Regions from separate parts of the Homo sapiens genome. Here regions 1, 2, 4, 5 and 6 are each linked to region 3. The links are contacts of gene promoters, found by promoter capture Hi-C in blood cells and fetal thymus (Javierre and others, 2016). All regions are on one chromosome and are shown on one strand. The core of a region is centred on a gene start or on the middle of the fragment in contact, and the rest is flanking DNA. Distances in the headings are between cores, read along the strand shown. Region 1 holds the start of CRCP (CGRP receptor component). Region 2 has its middle 6.2 kb from the start of ASL. Region 3 holds the start of KCTD7 (potassium channel tetramerization domain containing 7). Region 4 has its middle 24 kb from the start of ASL. Region 5 overlaps LOC105375336 (a long non-coding RNA gene). Region 6 overlaps LINC03006 (long intergenic non-protein coding RNA 3006).

The links. The method cuts DNA at HindIII sites, captures the fragments that hold promoters and counts their contacts. A CHiCAGO score of 5 or more calls a contact.
Region 1: a contact is called between a fragment that was not itself captured here and the fragment with the promoter of KCTD7 in region 3, in 1 of 17 cell types (neutrophils). The highest score is 6.1, in neutrophils.
Region 2: a fragment that was not itself captured here is called in contact with the fragment with the promoter of KCTD7 in region 3 in 4 of 17 cell types (neutrophils, endothelial precursors, M1 macrophages and 1 more); the score reaches 7.3 in neutrophils.
Region 4: a fragment that was not itself captured here is called in contact with the fragment with the promoter of KCTD7 in region 3 in 2 of 17 cell types (endothelial precursors and M1 macrophages); the score reaches 6.0 in endothelial precursors.
Region 5: a fragment that was not itself captured here is called in contact with the fragment with the promoter of KCTD7 in region 3 in 10 of 17 cell types (M0 macrophages, endothelial precursors, M2 macrophages and 7 more); the score reaches 17.7 in M0 macrophages.
Region 6: a fragment that was not itself captured here is called in contact with the fragment with the promoter of KCTD7 in region 3 in 1 of 17 cell types (total CD4 T cells); the score reaches 6.2 in total CD4 T cells.

What each region holds. Positions count from the first base shown.
Region 1 is chr7:66,111,927-66,115,598 of GRCh38, forward strand. CRCP (CGRP receptor component) reads left to right here and starts at 2,921. Exons shown (of 6, transcript NM_014478.5): 1 at 2,921-3,044. The coding sequence starts at 3,037. RefSeq lists silencers at 1,797-1,987, 3,416-3,672 and enhancers at 2,634-2,763, 3,301-3,672. The HindIII fragment of the contact is 6,002 bases long and covers 1-3,672 here.
Region 2 is chr7:66,067,722-66,071,415 of GRCh38, forward strand. It overlaps the pseudogene LOC644667. Among named protein-coding and RNA genes, the nearest start is that of ASL, 6.2 kb to the right of the region's middle. The HindIII fragment of the contact is 2,432 bases long and covers 900-3,331 here.
Region 3 is chr7:66,626,448-66,630,598 of GRCh38, forward strand. It overlaps KCTD7 (potassium channel tetramerization domain containing 7), which reads left to right and starts at 2,434. Exons shown (of 4, transcript NM_153033.5): 1 at 2,434-2,761. The coding sequence starts at 2,618. RefSeq lists silencers at 1,015-1,214, 2,225-2,794. The HindIII fragment of the contact is 8,113 bases long and covers 1-4,151 here.
Region 4 is chr7:66,050,253-66,054,374 of GRCh38, forward strand. No RefSeq gene overlaps it. Among named protein-coding and RNA genes, the nearest start is that of ASL, 24 kb to the right of the region's middle. RefSeq lists a silencer at 1,569-1,747. The HindIII fragment of the contact is 2,647 bases long and covers 27-2,673 here.
Region 5 is chr7:66,026,497-66,030,467 of GRCh38, forward strand. All of the region lies in intron 3 of LOC105375336 (a long non-coding RNA gene), which reads right to left. It also overlaps the pseudogene LOC100419772. Among named protein-coding and RNA genes, the nearest start is that of GUSB, 46 kb to the left of the region's middle. The HindIII fragment of the contact is 4,637 bases long and covers 1-3,971 here.
Region 6 is chr7:65,736,184-65,739,999 of GRCh38, forward strand. All of the region lies in intron 2 of LINC03006 (long intergenic non-protein coding RNA 3006), which reads right to left. Among named protein-coding and RNA genes, the nearest start is that of SNORA22, 17 kb to the right of the region's middle. The HindIII fragment of the contact is 3,989 bases long and covers 1-3,635 here.

The sequences.
Region 1 (3,672 bases), core at 80-2,579, 520 kb before region 3:
CCTCCTGGGTTCAAGCAATTTTCCTGCCTCAGTCTCCCGAGTAGCTGGGATTACAGGTGCCCCCCACCACACCCAGCTACTTTTTGTATTTTTAGTAGAGACGGGGTTTCACCATGTTGGCTAGGCTGGTCTCGAACTACTGACCTCATGATCTGCCTGCCTCAGTCTCCTAAAGTGCTGGGATTACAGGCGTGAGCCACCACGCCTGGCGATTTTTGTATTTTCGGTAGAGACAGGGTTTCCCCATGTTAGCCAGGCTGGTCTTGAACTCCTGATCTCAGATGATCCACCCACCTCAGCCACCCAAAGTGCTGGGATTACAGGCGTGAGCCACCTGGCCAGGCAATATATATTATTTTGTGTCTGGCTTCTTTCACTTATTAATAGCATCATGTTTTGGGAGGTTATCCATCTTGCAGCATTTATCTATCAGTCTGTCTATATATATTTTTTGCAACAAGGTCTCTCACTCTGTAGGCTGGAGTGCAGTGGTGTGATCATAGTTCCCTGCAGCCTCTACCTTCTGGCTCAAGCGATTCTCCTACCTCAGCCTCCCCAGTAGCTGGGACTAGAGGTGCTCACCACCACACCTGGCTAACTTTTCGTAGTTAGGGGGTCTAGCTATGTTGCCCAGGCTGCTCTGGAACTCCTTGTCTCAAGAAATCCTCCTGCCTCTGCTCCCCAAAGTGCTGAGATCAAGCCTGGCCTCCTTTTTATTTTTATATTTTTGAGACAGAGTCTTGCCCTGTCTTCCAGGCTGGAGTGCAGTGGCACGATCTTGGCTCACTGCAAGCTCTGCCTTCTGGGTTCACGCCATTCTCCTGCCTCAGCCTCCCTAGTAGCTGGGACTACAGGCGCCCACCACCACGCCCGGCTAATTTTTTTTGTATTTTTAGTAGAGACGGGGTTTCACCCTGTTAGCCAGGATGGTCTCGATCTCCTGACATCGTGATCTGCCCGCCTCGGCCTCCCAAAGTGCTGGGATTACAGGCGTGAGCCACCGTGCCCGGCCAGCCTCCTTTTTAAGTAGTTTTCCATTGCACAAATGTAGCACATTTTATTCATCCACTCATCAGTCTCTAGTTAATGCATCTGTTGTATATGTTCAGATTGGCTGGGGTTCAATACCCACTGGACAACTTCCTAGATGAGTGACTTTTGGTAAATCATAATCTCTCCAAGTCTGCCTCAGTTTCTTCAATTATAAAATGTCAATAATAATGCAATGTACCTCATAGAGAGTCATGGTTGTATTGCCACAGTAATTAATAAAGTGCCAGGAACTTTATAAGGATTATTTAACACCCTTATTATTTACAAAGTAGGCAACAGAGGCTATTGTGGTGGTTCACACCTGTAATCCCAGCACTTTGGGAGTTGGAGGTGGGAGGATCACTTGAGGCGAGGAGTTCAAGACCAGCCTGGGCAACACAGTGAGACCCCCATCTCTACAAAAAAATTAAAAAATTTTGTAGCTGACTCTTTGGACAATAAAGAATTTTATTTTAGAAAATTAGCCAGGTGGCTGGGTGCAGTGGCTCACGCCTGTAATCCCAACACTTTGGGAGGCTGATGAGGGTGGATCACAAGGTCAGGAGTTCAAGACCAGCTTGGCCAAGATGGTGAAACCCCGTCTCTACTAAAAAAATACAAAAATTAGCTGGGCATTATGGCGGGCACCTGTAATCCTAGCTACTGGGGAGGCTGAGGCAGGGAACTGCTTGAATCCAGGAGGCAGAGGTTGCAATGAGCCGAGATCACGACACTGCACTCCAGCCTGGGCAACAGAGTGAGACTGATCTCAAAAAAAAAAAAAAAGAAAAAGAAAAAGAAAAAAAGAAAATTAGCCAGGTGTAGCGGAGCGCACCTGTGGTCCCAGCTACTCTGGCAGGCTGGGGTGGGAGGATTGCTTGAGCCCAGGAGTTCAAGGCTGCAGTGAGCTCTGATTGCACCACTGCATTCCAGCCTGGGCGACAGAGCAAGACCCTGTCTCTTAAAAAATAAATAAATAAACTGCAATGTTTCTGGCAGCCCAGATGCCACCAGCCTCACTACTCTCTGAGAGGTGGGATTTTAACATGCAAAGGCCCACTAACCCGATCACGTCTCACAACTTCAGCTGATTAATACTTTGTTAAAACCTAGACCACGAAAACAGACAGAGCCCGGCGAGGTGGCTCACGCCTGTAATCCCAACACTTTGGGAGGCCGAAGCGGGTGGATCACGAGGTCAGGAGTTCAAGACTAGCCTGGCCAAGATGATGAAACCCCGTCTCTACTAAAAAATACACAAATTAGCTAGGCGTTATGGCGGGCGCCTGTAATCCCAGCTACTCGGGAGGCTGAGGCAGGGAATTGCTTGAACCTGGGAGGCAGAGATTGCAGTGAGCCGAGATCGTGCCACTGCACTCCAGCCTGGGTGACAGAGCGAGACTCTGTCTCAAAAAAGAAAAAAAGAGGCTGGGCACGGTGCCTCACGCCTGTAATCCCAGGACTTTGGGAGGCCGAGGCGGGCGGATCACGAGGTCAGGAGATTGAAACCATCCTGGCTAACACGGTGAAACCCCGTCTCTACTAAAAACACAAAAAATTAGCCGGGCTTGGTGGCAAGCGCCTGTAGTCCCAGCTACTTGGGAGGCTGAGGCAGAAGGAGAATCGCTTGAACCCAGGAGGCGGAGGTTGCAGTAAGCCGAGATCCAGCCTGGGCGACAGAGCGAGACTCCGTCTCAAAAAAAAAAAAAGGTTAAAGAAAAAAAGAAAAGAAAACACAAGATAATCCTGTCCGCAAACGCTTAGCAGTCTTAAATCGGCCTGGTGGAAGGATGCAGGGACACTCCCCCACCCTGCCCCCCGAAAAAGGGGAACGCGCAGCGCGAGGTTCCGGGTCCGCCAAGCTCCCGGCATGCAGCGCGGCGATCCCGGCGAGCACCTTGGCGCGCGGAGCTGGCACCTTGGCGCTGTTGGTGGCGGCGGAGACAGCTGTGAAGTGTGAGGTTCTTTGTCTGCTGGCAGCTAGGGGCGACGAGGCGGGACGTCATGGAAGTGTAAGTCTTCTCGGGCGCGTCCCTTTTCGCCCGAGGAGCCCAACGGTTTGACCGCTGAGAGCTGAGAGCCGAGAGCCGTGGGGACTGGGCGACCCTCGTACGGGAGTGAGGGCAGCGGGCCGGCCCTGTCCGGGAGGGCCGCGGGGTGGTGACGGGGACGAACGGGACTCTCGCTTTGCCCTTCCGAACCTTCGCTTCCCCTCCACGCCGTGTCTGGTGCGGGGCCGAGCACTTCCGTGTCCGGCTGCCTTTCAATGTGCCCCCTCCTTCTCTCATTCGTTTACCAGCGTTTCTGGGTCACAGTGCGGGGGTGGAGCCCAGTCTGGTATCCGACCCCGGACTTAGAAGGCTATAAAGGCCTGAGTCTGTCCGCCCTGAAAGTAGGTGGAGGAGAGACGAATCAGGGCCGGGTAGAGCTCTGCTTGCAGCTGTAGGCCCCTGGAGAGCCCTCGGAAGAGCTGCCCTCGGAATTTGATGGGAGCAGTAAACACTGTGAGGGAAGGGGCTGGTTTTGGGGTGGAGAAGGGAAGGACGTGAACCAGGACTGGGACCAGAGAAACAGCAGGGGGTGTGTGGGTGTGTGTGCAAGGCGAGGGTAAAAGATTTTCTGACAGTTTAACTCCACGTG
Region 2 (3,694 bases), core at 866-3,365, 560 kb before region 3:
TTTTTTTTTTGAGACGGACTCTCACTCTGTCACGCAGGCTGGAGTGCAGTGGCACAATCTCGGCTCACTGCAACCTCCACCTCCCAGGTTCAAGCAATTCTCTTTGCCACCACGCCCGGCTAATTTTTGTATTTTTAATAGACACAGGATTTCACCATGTTGGTCAGGCTGGTCTCAAACTCCTGACCTCGTGATTTGCCCGCCTCAGCCTCCCAAAGTGCTGGGATTACAGGCATGAACCACCACACCTGGCCACTCTCTCATTTTTGAGGGATAGTTTTGCTGGATATGAGATACTTAGTTGACAGCTCCCCACTTCACTATATTAGTTTTTTGATCTCTATAGTTTCTGATGAGAAATCTGCTGATTTTCATCTTATTGAGGATTCCTTGCATGTCGAGTTGCTTCTCTCATGCTCTTTTCAAGGTTCTCTTCTTGGCTTTCAAAACTTTCATTATAATGTGTCTCACTATGGGTCTCTGATTTCATCTTACTTGGAGTTCATTGAACTTCTTGGATTTTTTATATTCATGTCTTTTGTCAAATTTGGGAAGTTTTCAGCTATTATTTCTTTAAATATTCTCTCAGCACCCACCCCCCTTCTCCTTTGGAACTTTCACAATACATAGGTTGGTGCACATGATGGTTTCCCGCAGGTCTCTTAGGCTCTGTTCACTTTTCCTCAATCTTTTTTCTTTCTATTCCTCAGACTCAATAATTTCCATTGTCCTTTCTTCAAATTTGCTCATTCTTTTTTGTTTTAGGCCATTCTTTGTGTTGCTATAAAGGACTACCAAGACTGCGTAATTCAGCAAGAAAAGAGGTTTCATAGGCTCATGGTTCTGCAGGCTTTGTGGGAAGCATGGTGCTGGCATCTGCTTCTGGTGAGGCCTCAGGAAGCTTACTTACATCATGGTGGAAGGTAATGGAGAGCCAGCCCATCACACAGCAAGAGCAGGAGCAAGAGAGAGAGGAGGGAGGTGTCACACACTTTTCAACAACCAGATCCCACGAGAACTCACTCACTATTGCAAGGAGAGCACCAAGCCATTCGTAAGGGATCTGGCCCCATGACCAAAACACCTCCCACCAGGGCCCACCTCCAACATCGGGATTACATTTAAATATGAGGTTTGGGGGGACAGACATCCAAACTATATCATTTATTCTGCCAATTTGTCATTTTAGTTATTATACTTTTTAGCTGCAAAATTTGTTCTTAGTTTCTTTTGCAGGTTTTCTATCTCTTTACTGATATTTCCATTTTGTTCATATGTTGTTTTATTGGCTTTTTCCATGTCTTCCTTTTTTTTTTTTTTTTTTTTTGAGACAGAGTCTCGCTCTGTCGCCCAGGCTGGAGTGCAGTGGCACGATCTCGGCTCACTGCAACTTCTGCCTTCTGGGTTCATGCCATTCTCCTGCCTCAGCCTCCCGAGTAGCTGGAACTACAGGCGCCCGCCACGGCGCCCAGCTAATTTTTTGTATTTTTAGTAGAGACTGGGTTTCACCATGTTAGCCAGGGTGGCCTTGATCTCCTGACCTAGTGATCTGCCTACCTCAGCCTCCCAAAGTGCTGGGATTACAGGCAGGAGCCACCGTGCCCGGCCTTTTTTTTTTTTAATCACCCGGGCTGGAATGCAGTGGTGTGATCTTGGCTCACTGCAACCTCTGCCTCCCGGGTTCAAGTGATTATCCTGCCTTAGCCTCTCGAGTAGCTGGGATTACAGGCATGCACCACAACGCCCGGCTAATTTTTGTATTTTTATTTTATTTTTTTTTTAAGAAAAGTTTTATTAATGTGTTAATATTTCAGCAAAGTTATTGCAATGGGTTGAAAACACAAACACACTGTTACAGGCTTTAAAGTGACAAACGAGTTTTACACAATTGAAATATTACACATACTTATGGGATTTATTGAATGATTAACAGACCCATAAAAGAAATTAAATCTGAAAGACGAAATCCAGTATTAGCACCTACAATATCTCTGACAGTTAAACTTTTAATGGTTTCTGTCTCCTAATGTATTTTTAAACTCTCTCCCTCATACAGTGCTCTCAAACCCCAAGGATGAACGAAAAGGCATAAGCGGCCCTGATCCTAGAAACGTACAACCAAAAGCAGAGCTACAAATATGGACTCAGACTTGAGAGTTTTACTTAGAAGTAACTTACTGTACTTGAGCCAGTCATAAGTTTTCTGTGCACTGAATACTGTATATGAGAAAATTCTGTGAGTCATAAGGTTTGGGTAGGGATAGTTAAAAATTAGTAATATACAGTATTATTCCAATCAAATTTTTTTCTCGTAAGTTATATTTGTAAGAAAACTATAATTAAAATATTTTTATACCTGCTTATTACATATCCAGGGACCCAGCAGGAACATCTATGTGTTTGATGGTTTGGCATCCACTTTATTGTGCTTACTGATTTTTGTGATGAACAAGCAACACACATCACATCTTCACAACCTTTAAGGTAATGCAACAAGGACATAACATTCTCCAAAGAAATAACTGGAAATTGCATTAAATACTGCTTTAATGAGGAATAATTGCTATAATAAAACAAATAACATTATACATTATTTTTTCAATGAGCTTCAGTTTGAGGAACTGAATAGTAGAAACAGATCTTAATATATGAGTCATGGTAAAACTGGTAAATCTTTGAAATCTAGGAGGTGCATTAGCAAAACCACAGCCACACCAACCTTTGCCAAAATCCTGGAGAAAAGCATTTTATTAATTTAGGGGAACAAGATGGAACACTGGCAAAGATACAACTTGTTGAGGTCTAAAGCTACCTGAGAAGCTGGCCCAAGGAATGAGGAGAACCAATGGTACGTACTGGTGGCAGATAATAAGGTTTGCACTGGGCTGACCAGCTGTGTTTTATTAAATGGCCTTCAATAAAAAAAGTGAAATGCTTCATTGTGTTTTCTCAGAAACTAGTCAAAAGATTACAGAGTCCTACACAATTTGGAGACACAAAGTGGATACTGAGCAACTAAAGGTCTTTCCAGGTGTGGAATTTTACAAAGTCCTTGGAGTAAATGGCAGTGTGGCTCTGGCAGCAGATAGGAATGATACTCTGGAGAGGAGGTAGAGACACTCTGCAGTCGGCCAATGGATACATGAGGGGCCCAGCTAGAAGTAGGATCTTTAATTCTATGGTTTATCTTCCATGGCTCATGCCTCTGCCTTCATAAATGGTAATTTCAATAACTCGCAGTCCTTACTCAATGGAGTCTGTCAGGAGAAGGCCTTGTGGAACATAGATCTTCTCATTCTGCTCTTGAATGCATTTGGAGACTTTCTTCAGAAGCTTCTGGTAATGAGTTTCCAAGCATAGGAAGATGGTATATGCTGTTAAACAAGCCAAACAACCTTCGAGATATGATTGGCCACCAAGCTTCTCTGCTTCTGCATAAAGGTTATTTAGAGTTTGAACTATTTCTTCAAACTGCTGCCTATCAATCTGGTTCTCCAGCTCCATGGAGAACATGGTCTGGAACTGGCAGCCTGTGCCACTGCTGTAGTCTCGCTGAATGAACACCTTTCTGGACTCTGGTGCCTGCCGCAGCCTCATGGCAAGGACAGGACAGGCCGCACTCTAATTTTTGTGTTTTTAGTAGAGACTTAGTTTCACCATGTTGGCCAGGCTGGTCTCAATCTCCTGACCTCAG
Region 3 (4,151 bases), core at 1,184-3,683:
TGGTTCATGGACCAGCAGCATCATAATTATCCTGGGATTTGTTAGGAATGCAAATTACCAAGTGCTTCACCCAAGACTGATCAACTCAGATTCTCTGAGGGTGGGACTGGGGCTCTGTTTATTTTTTTATTTTAACTTTTTATGGATACATAATATTTTACATATGTATGGGATATCTGTGATATTTTGTTACGTGCATAGGATGTGTAATGATTAAGTCAGAGCATTAGTGGTATCCATCACTTTGGGAATTTACTCATGTGTTGGAAACAATTCAAGTCCTCTCTTCTAGATTTTTGTTATTGTTGTTGTTGAAACAGAGTCTCTGTCACCTAGGCACTGGAATGCAGTGGTGCAATCACAGCTCACTGCAGCTTCGACCTCCCTGGCTCGCATGATCCTCCTTGCTTTACCCTCCTAGTAGCTGGGACTACAGATGTGAGCCACCACACTCAGCTATATATATATTTTATTTTTTGTAGAGGCAGGGTCTAACTACGTTGTCCAGGCTGGTCTTGACCTCCTGGGCTCAAGGTATCCTCCCGCCTTGGCTTCCCAAAGTGTCTTCCAGCTATTTTGAAATATACAATCCATTGTTGTTAATTATAGTCACTACTCTGCTTTTGAACCATAGAACATAAACCTTTTTATCTAACTGTATGTCCTTCATTAACCTAAATCTCTTCATTTCTCACCCAACCGTTCCCAGCCTCTGGTTTCTTTCTACTCTCTAAATTTATGAGATCGATTTGTTTTAGCTGCCACAGATAAGAACATGCAATATTTATGTCTTTCTGTGCCTGGCTTATTTCACTTAACATAATGACGTCCATCCACGTTGCTGCAGATGACGTGATTTCATTCCTTTTCATCTGTGTTTAAACAAGGTCTCCCTCCAGGGATTTTGATGCAACTGAAGTTGGAGAAAACACAGACCTAGGACACTCCTGCAGCTGGGAGTGCGATGGTCTAACAGAGGAAGTGCTATGCCACCAGCTCATCTTTGCCATCCTGGAGCTGTCTAATCTACGACTCAGTTTTCTTTTCTGTCACTACACTGTGAGAATGAGATGAGGAACTGGGTGTGAAAACGGTTTGAAAAGGAGAAGCATGGTTGCACACGCCTGCGATCCCAGCACTTTGGGAGGCTGACGAGGGAGGACAGCTTGAGGCAAGGAGTTTGAGACCAGCCTGGGCAACATGACAAGACCCCATTTCTTAAAAAAAAAAAAAAAAAAAAATTTTTTTTTCTTTTTTGAGACGGAGTTTCGCTCTTGTTGCCCAGGTTGGAGTATAGTGGCCGTGATCTCGCCTCACTGCAATCTCCATCTCCTGGGTTCAAGCGATTCTCCTGCCTCAGCCTCCCTAGTAGCTGGGATTGCAGGTGTGCCACCATGCCTGGCTAATTTTGTATTTTTAGTAGAGATGAGGTTTCACCATGTTGGCCAGGCTGGTCTCAACTTCCTGACCTCAGGTGATCCACCCGCATCGCTTACCAAAGAGCCAGGATTACAGGCGTGAGCCACTGCGCCCGGCCAAAATTTTAAAAAATCAGCTGAGTGTGGTGGTGCGCGTCTGTGGTCCCAGCTACTCGGGAGGCTGGGGCGGGAGGATTGCTTGAGCCCAGGGGTTGCAATGAGCTATGATTGCGCCACTGCACTTCAGCCTGGGTAACAGAGTGAGACTTTGTCTTTTAAAGAAAGGAGAAAATGGCTTGAACGGGCTAAGAACCTTGACCCCCAGGAGACTCCCTGCGCTGATAGAGCCTCTAGGGCTGGACTCCGCCTCCCAGGGAGCCGGGAGCATCTTGGGGAAGGGCCTGTCTCCATCTGTGTGTCCCGGTGGAAAAACGGTCACGGTGGGGAGTCACTGTCATTATTCATTGAACTCAAGCGCTCCTATTTTGGGTTTTCTCGTTCGGATTTCTGCGCGAGCGAGTGAGGAAGAACTGGACACCCGGGCGGTGCCCTGCGGCTCGGGGCGGGGCCAGCCGCGGTGGCGTGTCCGCAGCCACCTCAGCCCTCCTCCCGCCACATCCTCCAGGAAAGGCTGCTCAGGCCTTCCATTGAGGAGACAAGGACCCGCTGCTCTGGGGCCAGACACACGAGTAAGTCGTGACCCCCTGTGTGAAGGGATAAGGCGTCTACCCTGACGCGGGTGAGAACCCTCTTCACGGCAGACTCCGACGCCCAGTTATGAGAGCGTAGCGGCGCACCACCGCCGGGTCTCTCGGAGAGGGCGCGCCCGCTGGCCAGAGGACCAATCAGTGCACGGCAGGCTCGCAGGCCGCCCCCCCCCCCCCCCCCCAACCCAGGGACCACTCAGGCGCCGGCCGCTGGCGCTGCCTGCTCTTCGACTGGGCGAGCTTCCTGCCAATCAGGGCGGAACCAGCGCGGCGTCGGCCAGTAGCGGGAGGCGGTCGGGTCAGGCCCCAGCTGGGCGCGAGCGGGTCGGCGTTGAGGGAGCCACCGCCCTCCCGCCTGCGCACTGCCTCTCGCCCCCCTCCGGCCAGCCCGCAGCCGGCCGCGTCATGCCAGGCGCTGCTCGGCGGTAGGGAGTGCCCGGGGCCGCCGCCTCCGCCCGCCCGAAGCCGCGCCCACTGCCCAGAGCCAGAGGGATGGTGGTAGTCACGGGGCGGGAGCCAGACAGCCGTCGTCAGGACGGTGCCATGTCCAGCTCTGACGCCGAAGACGACTTTCTGGAGCCGGCCACGCCGACGGCCACGCAGGCGGGGCACGCGCTGCCCCTGCTGCCACAGGAGGTACCCGGGCGGGCGGCGGGCCGCGGGGCGTGGGGAGGGGCGCGGGGGAGAAGCGGGCGCGGGGCATAGCGGTCCTCGGCGGGTGGGCGGGGCCGGGGTTGGGGGCGGGGCCCGCGGACTTGCGCCCCTCCCCCGCCCACCTGCAACTCCCCCGCCCACCTGCACCCCTACCCACCCACCTTCAACCCCTGTCAATTACACCCACTAGGTGTGCTTCCCCACCCCCTACACCCTCCGCCCAGTAGTCACTGGGGTGATTTACTCCCATCGCCATGTCCCACTTTTACCGAAGACAGGAGGGAGGGTGGGCCGTGGGAGGGGGACCCTGGAGCCCCGAGAGCTGATGGTGTGTCTGACCAGGCACCGTAGCTCGAGCCTGTAATCCCAACACATTGGGAGGGAGGATCGCTTGAGGGCAGGAGTTGGAGGCCAGCCTGGGCAACATAGCGAGGCCCCGTCCCTACTACGACTGGAAAAACAAAGGCATTTTGGGTTGGATGAATAAAAAAAAGAAAAGAAAAAGATGTCTTCTAGAGAATCCAACAGGATGCTGTAGTGGTTGCCCACACCTAGTCTCCAGCTACCTAAGGAACAAGGCAAGGAGCTGTCTGCACATAAGGGGCAGGCCAGTTCATAGATGTAGGCACGGTCACCTGGCATCCCATGGCTTTCACTCACAGGCTGCTGTGCTCTGGTGCACAGGGGCTTCCACGGGTCTTACTTAATGTGTGTGATACTATCATGTCAACACCTGAAATGACACTCAAGAGACGGGAGAAGATACCAGGCATGGTGGCTCACATCTGTAATCTCAGCAGTTTGGGATGCTGAGGTGGGAGGATTGCTTGATCCCAGCAGTTAGAGACTAGTCAGGGCAACAGTGAGACCCTGCCTCTACAAAAATGAAAATTAGCCAGGCTTGGTGGTGTGTGCCTGTAGTCCCAGGTGCTCAGGAAGGTGAGTTGGGAGGATTGCTTGAGCCCTGGAGGTTGAGGCTGCAGTGAGCTGTAATTGTGCCACTGTACTCCAGCCTGGGTGTGATAGAGTAAGACCGTACCTACAAACAAACAAAAACAAAAAAAGCAAGAGAAGGGAAACGATGCCAGGTGTGGTGGCTTACACTTGTAATCCCAGCACTTTGGGAGGTCAAGGCAGGAGGATGGTTTGAGGCCAGGAGTCTGGGACCAGCTTGGGCAACACAGACTCCATCTCTACAAATAAAAAATAAAGAGGAGGGAAGGTGAAGCATTACTGGACACCGAAGATGGCTTCTAGGAGGCAGGGACTAAGGTAGTGCCAGATCCAGGAGCATGTGGTATGCGGAGTCCCAGGACAATGGAGGCCCTCAACAATTGAGGCCCTCAACAGGCTGGGCTAGGTGATGCTCTTG
Region 4 (4,122 bases), core at 100-2,599, 580 kb before region 3:
TGGGGAGCTGCTGTAAATACAGAAGAAGCTTTGCTCGCTCGACTACCACTCACCTCTTGCTGTGCGACATGGTTCGTAGCAAGCCACAGACTAGTACTGGTTTGTGGTTCAAGGTTTGGGGACCCTTCTTCTAACCTATAAAATTTTAAGACAATAAATTTGTGGGGTTTTGTGCAGCAGTTTGTTACTGCAGTAAGAGAAAATCAGTACATTCCCGTATATATCTGTTGTTCTGTGCAGTCTGTCTCCTGCTCACTCAGGGTCCAAGGTTACAAAATGCTGCTTCTCCAGGTCCGTCCCCACCTTTTCTGCAGGAGGCTGAGTACCTCTCAGATACCTCCTAGATAGATCCAGGTGTCTCAAAGTATGATATGCACACACACACACACACACACACACGCATGCACGAGCACCCCCAGAGTCTGTGCCCCCAATGGTGGCTGCCACCAGCCTCTGCAGTAGGGGCTGCTATCTTGCTGCGGCAGGCCAGGCTGCTGTTATTCCTGCGCCCTGAGGCATGGCCTCCTGCCTGACACGATTTCTGCAGATGCCTTGAGATGCTTTAATTTATTATTATCTTCATTCTCTGGCTGCTGGAGTCCATGGGGCCTTGTAGGGGGACAATCAGAGTGACAGTCACAGTGTCCCACTCAGGACTGCCCCTTGGACCTTCCAACCAAGCAGGAACCTTAACTCTGCCTTAACTTCCTTGGGAGGAAGGACTGTGTCCTGGAGGCTCCATGGTCCTGAGGGGGCCTGCTCTCCACTCCCAACCCAGCCCTCCAGGCAGGCCTGTCTCCTGGGGCCTCTGCTGTAGGCTTTTTCCCATAAACATACACAGTCCCCAGAAAAGTGCTTGAGATAGTGCTTGGCGCTTAGTAAACACTGCATAAGAATGCTTATTGGCCAGATGCCATGCCTATGCCTGTCACCCCAGCACTTTGGAAGGCCAAAGTGGGAGGATTGCCTAAGCCCAGGAATTCAAGACCAGATGGTGCAACACAGTGAGACCATGTCTCTACAAAAAATTAGCCAGGCAGGGTGGCATGTGCCTGTAGTCCCAGCTATTCAGTAGGCTGAGGCGGAAGAACCACCTGAGCCTTAAGGTTTGAGGTTACAGTGAGCAACACTGCACTCCAGTCTGGGTGACAGAGGGAGATACTGTCTCTTTAAAAAAAAGAAAAAGAAAAGGCCGGGCGCCATGGCTCACGCCTGTAATCCTACCACTATGGGAGGCCTAGGCAGGCAGATTGCCTAAGCTCAGGAGTTCGAGACCAGCCTGAGCAACACAGTGAAACCCCATCTCTACTAAAATACAAAAAAAAAAAAAAAAAAAAAAAAAAGGGGCCAGGCGTAGTGCCCGAGCATTTTGGGAGGCCGAGCCAGGTGGATCACCTGAGGTCAGGAGTTTGAGACAAACCTGAACAACATAGTGAAACCTTGTCTCTACTGAAAATGCAAAAATTAGCTGGGCGTGGTGGCACTTGCCTGTAATCCCAGCTACTCAGGAGGCTGAGGCAGAAGAATCACTTGAACCTGGGAGGTGGAGGCTGCAGTGAGCTGAGATCATGCCACTGCACTCCAGCCTGGGTGACAGAGCAAGACTCCATCTCAAAAAAAAAAAAAAAAAAAAAAAAAATTACAGTGGCTCACGCCTGTAATCACAGCACTTTGGGAGGCCAAAGTGGGCGGATCACCTGAGGTCAGGAGTTCGACACCAGCCTTGCTAACATGGTGAAACCCCCGTTTTACTAAAAATACAGAAAATTAGCAGGGCATGGTGGCTTATGCCTATAATCCCAGCTACTCGGGAGGCTGAGGCAGGAGAATCACTTGAACCCAGAAGGTGGAGGTTGCAGTGAGCTGAAATTGTGCCACTGCATTCCAGCTTGGGCAACAAGAGTGAACCTCCATCTCAAAAAAAAAAAAAGTGCTTATTAATAAATCCCGGCCGGACACAGTGGCTCACACCTGTAATCCCAGCACTTTGGGAGCCCAGGGCGAGCAGATCACCAGAGGTCAGGAGTTTGAGACCAACCTGGCCAACATGGTGAAACCCCATCTCTGCTAAAAATACAAAAAATAGTCAGGTGTGGTGGTGGTTTCCTGTAATCCCAGCTACTTGGGAGGCTGAGGCAGGAGAATCACTTGAACCTGGGAGGTGGAGGTTGCAGTGACCCGAGACTGTGCTTCTGCACTCCAGCCTGGGTGACAGAGCAACACTATGTCTCAAAACAAAACAAAAACAAAACAAAACAAAAACCCTTTATATTTTAGTCTAGTATAATTTCTGTAGCACAGGGATTAAGAAAACAAGTCCTGGCCAGGTGGGTGGCTCACACGTGTAATCCCAGCACTGTGGGAGGCCAGGGCGGGCAGGTCACCTGAGGTCAGGAGTTCAAGACCAGCCTGGCCAACATGGTGACATCCCGTGTCTACCAAAAATACAAACATTAGCTGGGCGTGGGGGTAGGAGTCTGTAATCCCAGCTACACAGGAAGCTGAGGTACGAAAATTCCTTGAACCTGGGAAACAGAGGCTGCAGTGAGTTGAGATCACACCACTGCACTCCAGCCTGGGTGACAGAGCGAAACTCTGTCTCCAAAAAAAGAAAAAAAAAGAAAAGAAAAAAGAAATAAATAAACAAAAAGAAATTGACACTTTCGGTCATAAAGCTTGAAACTTACATTTTATTTTACCTGAGTTCCTTCCTCAGGAAAGGATCCCCAGGCCTCTCAAAGTTTATCAAAGAACTGAAACTCACCAGGTCATGGCATCCTGACAATGAGACTCCGGACCCCTCATTCATCATGATTGCTTCCTTACCCCTCCTGAGTTCCTGTATTCCCACACATAGTTGCATTTCTTCCCTGCTGTATAAACCCCTAATTTTAGTAGTCAGGGAGATGGATTTGAGACTGATCTCCCATCTCCTCAGCTGCAGCACCCAATTAAAATCTTCCTTGGCAATAATCACTGTCTCAATGATTGGCTTTCTGTGCGGCCAACAGCTGGAGCTAGGCTGAACTCTACTGCTTTGGTAACACTAAAAGAATGAAATGTGATCATACACACACAGTGGTTCTAAAACATGTCTGCTAATTTCTTTTTTTTGAGACGGAGTCTCTCTCTGTCACCCAGGCTGGAGTGCAGTGGTGTGATCTTGGCTCGCCACAACCTCCACCTCTTGGGGTTGAAGCGATTCTCCTGCCTCAGTCTCCCGACTGGCTGGGATTACAGGCGCCCACCACCAAGCCCAGCTAATTTTTGTATTTTTAGTAGAGACAGGGGTTTCACCATGTTGCTCAGGCTGGTCTCAAACTCCTGACCTTGTGATCCGCCCACCTTGGCCTCCTAAAGTGCTGGGATTACAGGCGTGAGCCATCGCGCCCAGCCCATGTCTGCAAATTCTCTGACACCCCTCATGGAGTGGAGTCTAATTCCTCCTCACCTTGAACATGGTCTGGCTTTCGTGACTCACTTCCTTTTCTTTTGAGACAGTATCTCACTCTGTTTCCCAGGCTGGAGTTCAGTGGTGCAATCACAGCTCACTGCAGCCTCAACCTCCTGGGCTCTGGTGATCCTCCCACCTTAGCCTCCTGAGTAGCTGGGACCATAGGTGCTCACCACCACACCCAGCTGATTTTTATTTTATTTATTTATTTATTTATTTATTTGTTTATTTATTTATTGTTTTTTGAGACAGAGTAATGCTCTTGTTGTCCAGGCTGGAGGGCAATGGCGCGGTCTGAGCTCCCTGCAACCTCTGCCTTTCGGGTTCAAGAAATTCTCCTGTCTCAGGGTCCCAAGTAGCTGGAATAACAGGTGCCTACGACTACTCCCAGCTAATTTTTGTATTTTTTAGTAGAGATGATGTTTCACCATGTTGGCCAGACTGGTCTTGAACTCCTGACCTCAGGCAACCTGCCCACCTCCGCCTTCTAAAGTGCTGGGATTACAGGTGTGAGCCACCACATCCAGCCCTGACTCACTTCTAAGGAGTAGAATGCAGTGGAAGAGACCTGCATGACGGCTGAGGCTGCATCAGAAAAGTTGATGCAGCTCCCACGTGGCTCTCTCTGGGAATATGGGCCGTTGAAGCACAGAGCCAGGCTATAAGAA
Region 5 (3,971 bases), core at 964-3,463, 600 kb before region 3:
AGATACTATCTTAACCAAATGACCAAAGTTAACAATAGTAGCCATAAGAAACACCGACATTGGCCGGGCACGGTGGCTCACACCTGTAATCCCACCACTTTGGGATGCCGAGGCGGGCGGATCACGAGGTCAGGAGATTGAGACCATCCTGGCTAACACGGTGAAACCCCGTCTCTACTAAAAAAATACAAAAAATTAGCCGGGCATGGTGGCCGGCACCTGTAGTCCCAGCCACTCGGGAGGCTGAGGCAGGAGAATGGAATGAATCCAGGAGGTGAAGGTTGCAGTGAGCCAAAACTGTGCCACTGCACTCCAGCCTGGGAAACAGAGAGAGACTCCATCTCAAAAAAAAAAAAAAAAAAGAAAGAAACATCGATATCATGTACCCTGAGATATCAGGACACGAGAAGGGGAGATCACCTCTGTGGTACTCTTCCTCAAAAGCCACAGGTTCTGTGTAATCATAAGAAAACGTCAGACAATCACAAATCAAGGGACGTTCTACAAAATACTTGACCAGCCCTTCACAAGTGTCAAGGAAGACAAAGGAAGAGTAAGGACACAGAACAAATGACATTATGGGAACATGTTAACTAAATATAAAATGGTATCCTGAGCCAGGTGCGGTGGCTCACACCTGTAATCCCAGCACTTTGGGAGGCCGAGGCAGGTGGATCACAAGGTCAGGAGATTGAGGCCATCCTGGCTAACACGGTGAAACCCCGTCTCTACTAAAAATACAAAAAATTAGCCAGGTGTGGTGGCGGGCGCCTGTAGTCCCAGCTACTATCGGGAGGCTGAGGCAGGAGAATGGCGTGAACCTGGGAGGCGGAGCTTGCAGTGAGCCGAGATCATGACACTGCACTCCAGCCTGGGCGACAGAGCGAGAGAGACTCCCTCTCAAAAAAAAAAAAAAAAAAAAAAAAAAAAAAATGGTATCCTGAACTGAATCCTGGAACTCAGAAAACAGCAGTGGGAAAACAAGGTATTCAAATAAAATTTTAGCTTAGTTTAATAGTATGTACCAATGTTAATTTCTTGGTTTTTCATGGTATAGACCATGGTTATGTAAGATGTTAACATCGGAGAAAACTATGGGAAGGGTACACAAGAACTCCCAGCACCTGTCTCTACAACTTTTATGTAAGAGAAAAATGGCTGGGCGCAGTGGCTCACACCTATAATTCGAGCACTTTGGGAGCCCAAGATCGGCGGATCACCTGAGGTTGGGAGTTCGATACCAGCCTGACTAACATGGAGAAACCCCATCTCTACTAAAAATACAAAATTAGTCAGGCGAGGTGGCGCATGCCTGTAATCCCAGCTACTCAGGAGTCTGAGGCGGGACAATCACTTAAACCTGGTAGGCGGAGGTTGTGGTGAGCCAAGATCGTGCTATTGCACTCCAGCCTGGGCAACAAGAGGGAGACTCCATCTCCAAAAAAAAAAAAGAAAAATGATTTCAAAATAAAAGGTGTTTTTTTAAAATTGATTTGCAATGGTCTGATATTTTCTCATGATTACACAGAATTTGTGGCTTTTGAAGAAGAATACAGATATAATTTGAGAGGAATTATAATTACATATTTTGGGAAGAATCTGAAACTTGAAAAATAAACAATAGCCTTAAGTGTCTAAGTCCCCAGCACTTTGGAAAGATGCGGTGAGAAGATCCCTTGAGCCCAGGGATTCAAGACCACCCTGGACAACAACAAAAAAATTAGCCAGGCATGGCAGTGCATACCCATATTCCCAGCTACTTGGGAAGCTGAGCTCGGAGCACCACTTGAGCCTGGGAGGTTGAGGCTGCAGTGAGCAGTGATTCCCTTTCAAGGAGAAGTGAGAGCAATCTTTTAGACTATTCCTTCTAACTTTGTAGCTGGCTAAACACTACACTTGACCAAACTCCTCCCACTTTTATAAACAGAATAAAAATCAGGTTACAGTAAAAGTATTCAAATCAGATAAAAGGCGATCTTGATTTCAGCAGCCAGTCGTTGGGAGAATAAACCCCCCTCCCTCAATGGTACTTTAGGTAGGCCTGGCAGAAGCCCAGCCTTACTTCATAGGTGATAGTGTTCAAGTTCTGTTGCCCAGAGCTGTGTTTATTCTTTCCACTTTCTTTACGCTGCTCTTTCAGATCAGTTAGTAAATGAAACACCCAGGAGAAGATACACAAAAGAAGTTTATGAATAAATTTGAGAAATATATCTATCTAAGGTCAGTGGTTTTGAAGGATAAACAGGAAACTGTAGTACTTCCTTTCACCCGCCCATTACGCAGCTTCCAATTCTTGGATTTGAGCAAATATGAGTCCCAGAGGCATATGACATTAAAAAAATGCTCTTTTATATAAGCCAAATAATCCAAATTCATTAATTTACCTAAAATATTTCAAATATGGCCAGGTGCGGTGCCTCATGCCTGTAATCCCAGCACTTTGGGAGGCTGAGGCGGGCGGATCATGAGGTCAGGAGATCAAGACCATCCTGGCTAAAATGGTGAAACCTCATCTCTACTAAAAATACAAAAAATTAGCCAGGCGTGGTGGCAGGCACCTGTAGTCCCAGCTACTCTTGAGGCTGAGGCAAGAGAATGGCGTGAACCTGGGAGGCAGAGGTTGCAGGTTGCTGAGATCACGCCACTGCACTCCAGCCTGGGCAACAGAGCAAGACTCCATCTCAAAAAAAAAAAAACAATTTCAAACATTTCCTATGAATATACACATCACTAATCTCCTCTGATCTCAAAAATATACTATTTGAAAGCAAATTTTCTTAAAACAAATATTTTGTTAAAAAAGAATTCTGCTTCTCTAGTATAAAAATCTAACATAGGCCAGGTGCAGTGGTGCACACCTTTAATCCCAGCACTTTGGGAGGCCAAGGCAGGCGGATCACGAGGTCAGGAGATCGACACCATCCTGGCTAACACGGTGAAACCCCATCTCTACTAAAAATACAAAAAAAATTAGCCGGGCGTGGTGGCGGGCGCCTGTAGTCCCAGCTACCCGGGAGGCTGAGGCAGAAGAATGGCATGAGCCCGGGAGGTGGAGCTTGCAGTGAGGCGAGATCATGCCACTGCACTCCAGCCTGGGCGACAGAGTGAGACTCAATCTCAAAAAAAAAAAAAAAAAAAAAATCTAACATAATAATTTCTTTCTGGAAAAGAAAAATTTTGAAGCAAGTGATAAGACAGAGTTTACCAAAAAAAGGGGAGGAAAAAATGCTATGGATTTTTAGAAGCAAACTTTCCCCACAAGGATAAAACATGCATGCATTAGAGTGCTGGAGGCAGGGGGGAATCTCAGTCTCATTCCTGTTTTAGAGATTCTACCACAGAAGTGAAGAAAATGCAGGCTCACACACCATCACTAAATACAATGCGACCCCTCTCATCTGCTGTTCCTTTCAGAAATAGTGGCATGAGATCAATGAATGCAATGTTTCCCCAATGGATAAAACACCCAAACGCCTAGCAAAGTCCAAACTGGACAAGGAGGCTCCTAAAAGCCAAAGGCTTGGCCAAAAACCATTCAACCATTTCCTTCCTGTTCTAAGCTGCAACCACTTGAGACTGAGCCTTTAGAGAGGAAAGAATATGGCCAACTCTGTTTATTCTACTACCTTCTTTTCTTTTGGGGGGATGTGGAAGGGAGGCGGTTTCTTTCTTTTTGCTGTCTTCCACTCTGGGAGCTTTTTTTAGGGGACAGGGTCCCAAAGGCTGTCTCCCAGGCTAGAGTACAGTGGTCATCACTGTAACCTCAAACTCCTGGGCTGAAGCAAACCTCCCCTCTGCCTTCCAAGTAGCTAGGACCATAGTAGGTGTTTGCTACCATGCCCAGCTAATTTATTTTTTTAAGAGCTGGGGGTCTTGCTAGGTTTCCCAGGCTGATCTCTAACTCATAGCCTCAAGCAGTCTTCTCTCCTTGGCCTTCCAAAGTGCTGAGATTACAGGCATGAGCCACAGCA
Region 6 (3,816 bases), core at 391-2,890, 890 kb before region 3:
CCTGCCTCAATCTCCCAAGTAACTGGGATTACAGGCAGGCACCACCATGCCCAGCTAATTTTTGTGTTTTTAGTAGAGACGGGGGTTTCACCAGGTAGGACGGGCTGGTCTCAAACCCCTGGCCTCAGGTGATCTGCTCACCTCAGTCTCCCAAAGTGCTGGGATGACAGGAGTGAGCCACCGTGCCCAGCCACAAATTTTCTAATGGCTAATTGTGTTAGAATCATGTACTCCTTTTTAAAAAGTTATTCACTGATAATGGCCTTCTAAAGTATAGTAAATTGGAACGAACACTCCGGAAAACAATATGGTGTTAGTAACACTAAACACACGCAATTTATACAACCCAGCAATTCCACCTGAGGGAGACACTCAGGAGAAACTTTCATGAGTAGGCTGGGTGTGGTGGATCATGCTTCTAATCCCACCACTTTGGGAGGCCTAGGTGGGAGGATCGCTTGAGCCCAGGATTTCAAGACCACCCTGGGCAACATATTGAGACCTAATCGCTACAAAAAATAAACAACATTAGTGGGACGTGGTGGCACACACCTCAAGTCCCAGCTACTTGGCTGAGTTGGGAGGATGGCTTGAGCCTGGAGGTTAAGGCTGCACTAAGATCACGCCACTGCACTCCAGCCTGGGTGGCAGAGTGAGACTCTGTCTAAAAAAAAAAAAAAAAAAAAAAAAAGAGGCCAGGCACGCAGTGGCTCATGCATGTAATCCCAGCACTTTGGGAGGCTGAGGCAGGCGGATCACCTGAGGCCGGGAGTTCAAGACCAGCCTGACCAACATGGAGAAACCCCGTCTCTACTAAAAATACAAAATTAGCCAGGCGTATTGATGCATGCCTGTAATCCCAGCTACTGGGGAAGCTGAGGCAGGAGAATCGCTTGAACCCGGGAGGCAGAGGTTGCGGTGACCTGGGATCACGCCATTGCACTCCAGCCTGGGCAACAAGAGTGAAACTCTGTCTCAAAAAAAAAAAAAAGAAAGTTGTATGATTGGAGGAGCCACATATATAAGAATTTTTACAGCAATACTGTGAACATTCTCAGTTACTGTGATTACTGTGATACTCCAATAGCCATTGGAAACTTTAAAAAGAGAATATCATTTAATGTCATAAATGATAACTTACAACATAAACTGCAGGAGAGTAGTTACTTCTGAAAGTAAGAAAGGAAATGAGATTGAGAAAAGGTATGTAGAGTTAATCAATGGCATTATAGTAATAATGTTCCTTTAAGTAGGATAGTAGGTGTACAGATGCTTTTTGTATCTGTGTGTATAAAATATTTGCTAACAAATTTAATATTTCATATCAATATGTTAAATAGCAATACATTGCTGCCTGGGCACGGTGGTTCACACCTGTAATCCCAGCACTTTGGGAGGCCGGGGCAGGCAGATCACGATGTCAGGAGATCGAGACCATCCTGGCCAACATGGTGAAACCCCATCTCTACTAAAATACAAAAAAGTAGCTGGGCATGGTGGTCCACACCTGTAGTCCCAGCTACTTGGGAGGCTGAGGCAGGGGAATCGCTTGAACCCAGGAGGTGGAGGTTGCAGTGAGCCGAGATCGCGCTACTGCACTCCAGCCTGGTGACGGAGAAAGATTCCATCTCAAAATAAATAAATAAACAAATAATACCAATACATTAAAATAGCATGAATGTCTTAAAAGAACACAGTTTGAAATGTGATTTAATATAAACATTAGCATTCAAAATAAGTCACACCATGGAAATATGCCCATGATATGTCACATGAATAAAGGAAGTTGCAGAACATATATATAATGTGAGCCCCCATTTTTGAACAAATAAATCTCTACGTGTGTCTATATCCAGGTATGGTATATGGTTATACATCTATGTCTATACAGCTATATAAAAGATGAAACATTCATTTATTTATTTATTTTTATGTTTTTGAGACAGTGCGTGGCTCTGTCGCCGTCCAGGCTGGAGTGCAGTGGTGCAATCTCAACTCACTGCAATCTCCACCTTCCGGGTTCAAGCGCTGGGATTATAGACATGAGCCACCACATCTGGCCTACAGCTATCTTTATAATGGAAAAAGTGGGGGAAATTTATATTACAAAGCAATATGATTATAGTATAAGAACTGCAGCAATATTTGACCGAATCTTCCCCTTCCTCCTCCTAGAAATTATGCAAAGTGATAGGGAGACATAGTGGGGGGGAATGAGGCAGAAATCCCATATTCAGCAAAACTAGAAGACAAAAAGTCACTGGAGACTCCAAGACCTGCACAAGGGCTACCAAAGTTACACGCGAAGAGGCAGATGCAGATCCTAGGAAACACAACTAAAACAGACTCTCTGAAGATGAGCCGTTCATGCCACAGTCCAAAAATGTGTTGTTTGAAACAAGCACAGCAGAGCAGGGATAAAAAGAACTGAGGGCAAGGCTCAAACAAGCAGAAAGGGAGTTGAAACCCTTGTAATCCAAGGGGTGAAGGGCATCTCTCCTGGCCTGAGCATCTTATGGGCAGAGTTAAGGTCCTAACACCCAGCTCACTCTCCTAGGGAGGGCATGGGAAAAGAATCAGCCTTCCAAGTAAATTCAATGTAGGGTGTGTCACTAACATTCTATTTTGGCCAGCACGGTAGCTCATGCCTATAATCCAACCACTTTGGGAGGCTAAGGCAAGAGGATTGCTTGAGCCTAGGAATTTGAGACGAGCCTGGTCATCATAACAAGAATCTTTTTTTTTTTTTTTGAGATAGAGTCTTACTCTGTGGCCCAGACTGGAGCGCAGTGGCACGATCTCGGCTTACTGCAACCTCAGCCTCCCAGGTTCAAGCAATTTTCCTGCCTCAGCCTCCTGAGTAGCTGGGATTACAGGTGCACACCACCAAGCCCAGCTAATTTTTGTATTTGTAGTAGAGACGGGGTTTCATCATGCTGGTCAGGCTGGTCTTGAACTCCTGACTTCATCATCTGCCCATCTTGGCCTCCCAAAGTGCTGGTATTACAGGCGTGAGCCACTGTGCCTGGCCCTAAGACTCTATCACTTGAGAGAGAGAGAGAGAGAGAGAGAGAGAGAGAGAGAGAGAGAGACAGCCAGTCGCGCCTGTAATCCCAGCACTTTGGGAGGCCAAGGCAGGTGGATTGCTTGAGTCCAGGAATTTGAGACCAGCCTGGGTGGCATAGCAAAACCCCATCTCTGCAAAAAAATACCAAAAAAGGCTAGACATGCTGGCTCACGACTGTAATCCCAGCTACTCGGGAGGCTGAGGCACAAGAATCCCTTGAACCCTGGAGGTGGAGGTTGCAGTGAGCTGAGATCGTGCCACTGCACTTCAGCCTGGGCAACAGAGAGACTGTCTCAAAAAAAAAAAAAAGGTAGATGAAGAGCTCACCAGAAACACAGGGGCTGTGTGCCCTATGTGCAGTGATTGGTGGTGATGCTAGGGAGTACTGGACTGGGAGGCGAAGCCCTACAGGGCCAGTTTAGAACAGTGCAAAGAAAAAATAACAAAAATAAAACAAAACAAAAAATAGTACACAGCAAAGGAGGCAGAACTACACAAAAACTACCAAGAGCCACATTGAATGACACAGTCTGACTGTGGCAGCTGAAAACCTTCGTTTGCATTGAGAAGCTTGTAAAACTACCCTGGTCCCTCTTGTCTTTCCTTCAGAGAAGACCCTTGCAAATGATCGGTCCAGGAAAATACAACTCATTCTATAATGAATTAAAGAAAAAAGGAAGGGACACCTTTGCTATGGGCTGAATGAACTGTGTTCCCCCAAAGTCCATATCTTGAAGTCTTAACCCCCA